Regions from separate parts of the Homo sapiens genome. Here region 1 is linked to region 2. Evidence: promoter capture Hi-C in 16 types of primary human blood cells and fetal thymus (Javierre and others, 2016). All regions are on one chromosome and are shown on one strand. The core of a region is centred on a gene start or on the middle of the fragment in contact, and the rest is flanking DNA. Distances in the headings are between cores, read along the strand shown. Region 1 overlaps ALDH1A2-AS1 (ALDH1A2 antisense RNA 1). Region 2 holds the start of AQP9 (aquaporin 9).

Region 1 (2,700 bases), core at 9-2,508, 67 kb after region 2:
TTACAAATTGCTAATTTGGTAGATACCGTCAGTTACCTTTACACTAAAAAATGTCAAAGAAGTTCTTTGTTGGGCTATGTTCTGGAAAATATTCTCTTCATCTTTTGTGACACATGTTCTTCGGAGCACTTAGAAGATTATAAATGCCCATGGGAGGCCCCCCCAAAAATATTTGTGCGTGGGTTGTGTGTGGGTTGTGAATGGGCTGTCCCCTTTTAGACATCCTCTTTCACTCTCATTGTACACTGGATATTCTGACTTCTTTCCTGTCTCATGTGAATATTTTCACAGATTTGGTTACTGTCATTCCACCCTCACTGTGAATTTGAGGGTAGGGATGTGCCACAAACTTCCGTTGGGTTCTTCATAGACTCTTTGTCAATGCTTGGCACATAGTATATGCTCAATGAATATTTGTTCAATTGAACTTAGATGACTGACAGAGAAAAAAAATCCAGGTTTAGGAACTGCAGTCAGGAAAACACAGATGCTCTGAAAGTGGGGTTATACAGCCTGAAGCAAGACCGCTCCTTGCCATTTGGTGGTAGATGTCCAAATTGGGTACCTATTCCAGCCCTAAATGCCTCCCAGTTTTACTCTATGCCTTTCACACAGCAAACCGTTTGGTTGAGACAAAAGAGGCTGCCATGCCTCCTCTGTTGTCAGGACGTCTAAAGTGTTCCTCGTTATCTTTTCAGTGGCCCATTTCAGCATGTAAAAAGAGAGAGACAGTTCACTTAGCCTCATTTTCTAATGAATATAAATACAGATCCCTGCCCCGAATAGTGCCAAAGTTCATGTGAGAATTCCTTATGTCCAAAGATCCTGTGAGTTGAGTGGCTGTATAAGCGCAGATGCACTTGGGGAGGAAGCTTAGGAATCGGAGGGTCCTATGTTAAGTATTAGGCTGATGCCAAAGTAACTGAGGCCTTTGCCACTACTTTTAAATGGCAAAACTCGCAATTACTTTTGCACCAACCTAATAATAACAGGAGTTATTTGTAGAATTGACGGATTTTAGAAGGGTAAAAGGAAAAAGGAAAGCTAAGAAATGTGAAATAAAGAAAAAAGCAGACAACTTAGTTACACGCCAAGTCCTTAACTGAGCGAGAAGAGAAATAAATTCTGGAATCTGTCTATTAATAATTCTTCCTCACCCACAAGATAAAAACAGTAGCTTCCAATCTGAGACACACTCATGCAACTTCCTCTGTGACAGAGTGCTCTGAACACTATGTGAGTGGGACCATAGTGTTCTCAGTATTGCACTTTCTACGGTAAATTTGGCTAAGAAACACTTTTGTTCTTTTCCTGTAAGTCAAAAGAAAGTCCTCCTAAACTAACTAAAATCTAAAATTTGTCTGACTCTAGGAGATTTTTTTTCTCCAGACAAATTCAAATTAAATGATAACATCTCTTAAGGATTTCTCACCAGTATCAGATAAAAATACATTGAATCCAAGCTATTTGAATGGACAATACTCAGTTGCACATACACACCATCAACTGCAGGGGGCGCCAATGCCTTTTCCCTCAGGCCCTTCAGAAAAGGCGGTGCAGCTGGAATTTTAATTTCTTCCTGTCTGTTAAGTGTGATTATTGATGAAGTACTGCGCTCATCCCAGTACCCAAATTGAAGCTTCTCGAACATATACGAAATGGAACTGGGCCTTACAACAAAGGCAAATCTAGTTCCCATGTTTAAAATAGTCTCCGGGGTCCCTGAAAAGTAGAGGGTATATTTTAAAAGAAAAGAACTGTGTTTTGTATCAAAACATAGTTTTTTGAGTCATAACCAATTAGGACTCTACTCCCTGCAACTCCAAATACCTCTTCTCATAGAATATAGTGACCAGAGGCCATATCAAGAAATGAGGAACTTAATATCTAGAGAATTTTTATGGTTAATAAATACCACAGTCTCAGCCTCTTTTCTTCTGGATGTTAGAAGGAAAAGGATAATTAAATGAGAGTTTAGATCTCACATAAAAAGTTAATATACAGGTTAAATAAAAATATAAGTGGATTTATTTTATAGAAGTTTTCATAATGGGTCCCAAATACTTCATTAAGCATTTCTGGATAAAAATATGTAAAGCTCTTTATAAGCTTTTGTTAATAAATTAAATACCATTTCTCTATAAATATATTTTGCATTAAGCTTTCCTGTTAGAGTTTTCAGGAAACATTTCAAATAAAGTGGCCAGGCATATCCCATTTGAGATGAATGAGATCATTAGGAAACACTTATATCTGAAATAAGCACTGAGATCATTCTGCATACAACCTGAGGGCCCTAATTTTTTAAATATTTCAAACAATGTGCCTCTTTCAAATCATTAGATGTAGAGACATTTAAGGAACTGATTCAATTAGCCCAGAAGAGGGGAATGCTATAATGTGTGATTTATTTTTGAAGATAAATTAAAATGCAAGTGTATCTGTTAGGAAAGGTAGGCTGTCATCATGGTTAGTAATGGGAACAGGAAAGCAATTAAGCAGGGCCACCTGAGGCTGAAACAGCCCCTAAACATAGAAACTTGACATTCAAGCTGGACATTCGGTTACTGTCAAAATCAAGTGCATCTTCTTTGAGAGGGATCTTTGAGCTGCATTTAGTTCCCTTCATTGATTTCTAAAGACTAGTTCTCAACTTAACAAATACTTTCCTCCCCTTAACTGCAGCTAACAAGAAACCTA
Region 2 (2,700 bases), core at 148-2,647:
TTTCTCAGAGACCAGAAAACTTATGACTCTCTCTTCACATTCCACTAGTTCAATTTTTTGAGTTCACATTTGTTTCTCATTCTTGGCTTAGCTGATGCATTCCAAGCTTATTCTTCTAAATTATTATGTATTTGCCCCAAGCAAAGAACTTTTAATGCACAGAGTTTATGGGCTATTCTCTATAACTTTAAGGAAAATGAAATTATTTATACCTGGAGTAGGAAATCCTTAAGCAGGATAAAAAAAACCAGTTGAAATCAATAGTTGCCACATGATAATACATTTCTATTCACAAATGGCCTGGTTCCAGGTAAAACTTCAGGATACAGAGAATGCTAGAACGTGCAGCAAAATGAAAGCCCAGACCACTTAAGTAAACTTTCCAGTCTCTTGTTAATAGCTGAGTAAATCTCTGGGCAATCCTCAAGAGGTTCTTAGAAGTCGTCCCTCGTTTATATCTAGAAGGTTCTTGTAATTGTCTTGTAAATCTCCAAAGATATTTAGAGATTACTTTGCTTTAAATAGAGACCAAAAATGACACAAAACTAAAGCTGGACTATTGCCTGGTACACTATTTCTACCTAGTGCAATTTTTAATTTCTTAAAAATCAAGTGATCTGACAGCACAATACTTGTCAAGTACTTGTCATACTGAGATGTTTCTTGCCATCCATATGTATATTTTTGCCAACTATATTTATTGACTATTGATGCTTATTCCAGGTGGCTGAGTCACCCCAATGCTTGGAGGAAGCAAGCAGGGTACAAATCAATTGATCAATGAAAACACTAACGACTGACTTTTAAATCACAAAGCCATTTTAGAGTATAAGTAAATACCTGAAATAAAGAAGGCACTTCACTCACTCCTTCTCTTCCATTCCCATCAACTTTTGTGGGTAAATGCAATAGGTAATTGAAAACTTAATATCACAACCCCTAAATAGTCAAACAGCCTCTAGTAACTTGTTTCTTCCTGGAAAAGATGAATCTGATCCCAATTAACTTAAATAAAACAAACCAAACAAAACTCTCCACTACCAGCCTGGCAGCTAGGGAGGCATTATTGGGTCTGAATGTAGGAAATCAGGAAATACTTACAATCAAGATGAACGTGCCCAAGAACTCAGAGAGGGTTTCTTTCGCTAAGCTGCTCTTCAAGACCAGTCTCTGCTTGAAGCTTTTTCCCTTTTCTGCTCCCTCAGGCTGCATCTTGGGGCTTCTCTGAGGACTCCTGTTTCTACCAATACCTACCTGTTGTGGTCCTCACTTTCACAGCCAGATGAAAATGGACGTTTTGACAATGGCTCACAGATTCCTGGAGATGTCTGGTAAGAGTCTCTGACTGTACAAATGCCGTTCCAATTAGAGGCTGTGGCTTAATCGTCTTCTGGTGGAACTGTCATTCCCTGTTCGCTGCTATTTGTTTGAATCTGCGACTTAGAACCCGAAATCCCCAAAACAATCCCTTTTGTGCCTGACAGATTAATCATTACCTTTATTCTCAAGGTACTTTTTTCTCTGTTGGTTTTTTTCAAGAGATGAGAAAAGAGATGTGCCAGTTGTGTTGCCAAATCACAGTGACGGGCCCTGGTCCAGAAAAGATTTTCATGTTACACAATTGCAGGCTTCTGATTTTTTTTTCTTCTCATTCAGAAGTGGGTGGTTGGGGTGTAGTTTGGAACTGTCAAATCAGGTGTAGATATATCCAATGTTAACATTCTTTTCTGAAAAAGGTTTTTATGCAAAATGAAGAATTTGAAGAAAATATAGATTTATCATCCTAGAAGATTAATCACTCTTGTTTTCTTCTGGTATCATTTCAGTGGCTTCATGATACCACTCTGAGGTTAGTAAGAACCACATAGGCCATCCTAGAGATGGAGAAATTAACATACAGAGAAACCATTGCAAGCTTCACACTGCAAGTCTGTAGGACAGATGGAGTCACCTCTTCGGTTATGAAACTGGGCTTCACTTGCTGAAGATACTTTAGGATCCAAGAATCAGAAAGATGGAGGAGTCACCTTTTTGGTGACTTCTGAAGTTTCTTCTGAAGAAACATTCCAGTTTGGGTTTCTTCTGAAGAAGCATTCCAGTTTGAAAATAGTCACTCTTCTTCATTCACCATGAAATATTTAGACATAATACATAGGAAATAAACAATAGCAGCTTGAAATTCTTTACTGCATGGAGATGACTGAGCCGGAAAGAGATCAATTAGCGTGTATGTCATTCTAATCAAACGAGAAAGGGAGCCAGTACACCTAACCGAGGCTCCTAGGTTATACCCTTTCAATTTGATAAATTGACATCCTTGCTGGCAAGAAACTGTGTTTGGGAGTAGCTCCTTGTCCTGCCAAATATTCAAGCCTTGTTTTTCAAAACTGGCTTATCTGAAGAAATAGAATATAGCATTAGTTTCTAAATAGCAAGGCAGGCCTAGTTTCTGATTACCAATGTGGACTCATGGAATTAGTATCCATGCTGTGTGGTTCCTTCCAGTCCTCCCACAGGGAAGCCAGCTCTGCATCAGGCCCTCCCCTAGCTTTGCAAAAAGGGAGGGAGGAGAGGACATGGAGAAAGCAGCTGGTGAGAGGCCAAAGGCAGAAGGAGACTTCTCATCTGTAGGTGACATTTAGAATTTAGACTTTAAAAAGTTATAACCTGCCTGAGGCCACACTACTGCAGAACCAGGAC

What was found. Contacts are between HindIII fragments. The CHiCAGO score rates a contact against its expected background, and 5 or more counts as called.
Region 1: a contact is called between a fragment that was not itself captured here and the fragment with the promoter of AQP9 in region 2, in 2 of 17 cell types (M2 macrophages and M1 macrophages). The highest score is 5.7, in M2 macrophages.

What each region holds. Positions count from the first base shown.
Region 1 is chr15:58,069,830-58,072,529 of GRCh38, reverse strand. ALDH1A2-AS1 (ALDH1A2 antisense RNA 1) reads right to left here. Exons shown (of 3, transcript NR_147215.1): 3 at 1-1,722. Among named protein-coding and RNA genes, the nearest start is that of ALDH1A2, 5.5 kb to the right of the region's middle. The HindIII fragment of the contact is 767 bases long and covers 875-1,641 here.
Region 2 is chr15:58,137,078-58,139,777 of GRCh38, reverse strand. AQP9 (aquaporin 9) reads right to left here and starts at 1,397. Exons shown (of 6, transcript NM_020980.5): 1 at 1,102-1,397. The coding sequence starts at 1,212. The HindIII fragment of the contact is 735 bases long and covers 1,183-1,917 here.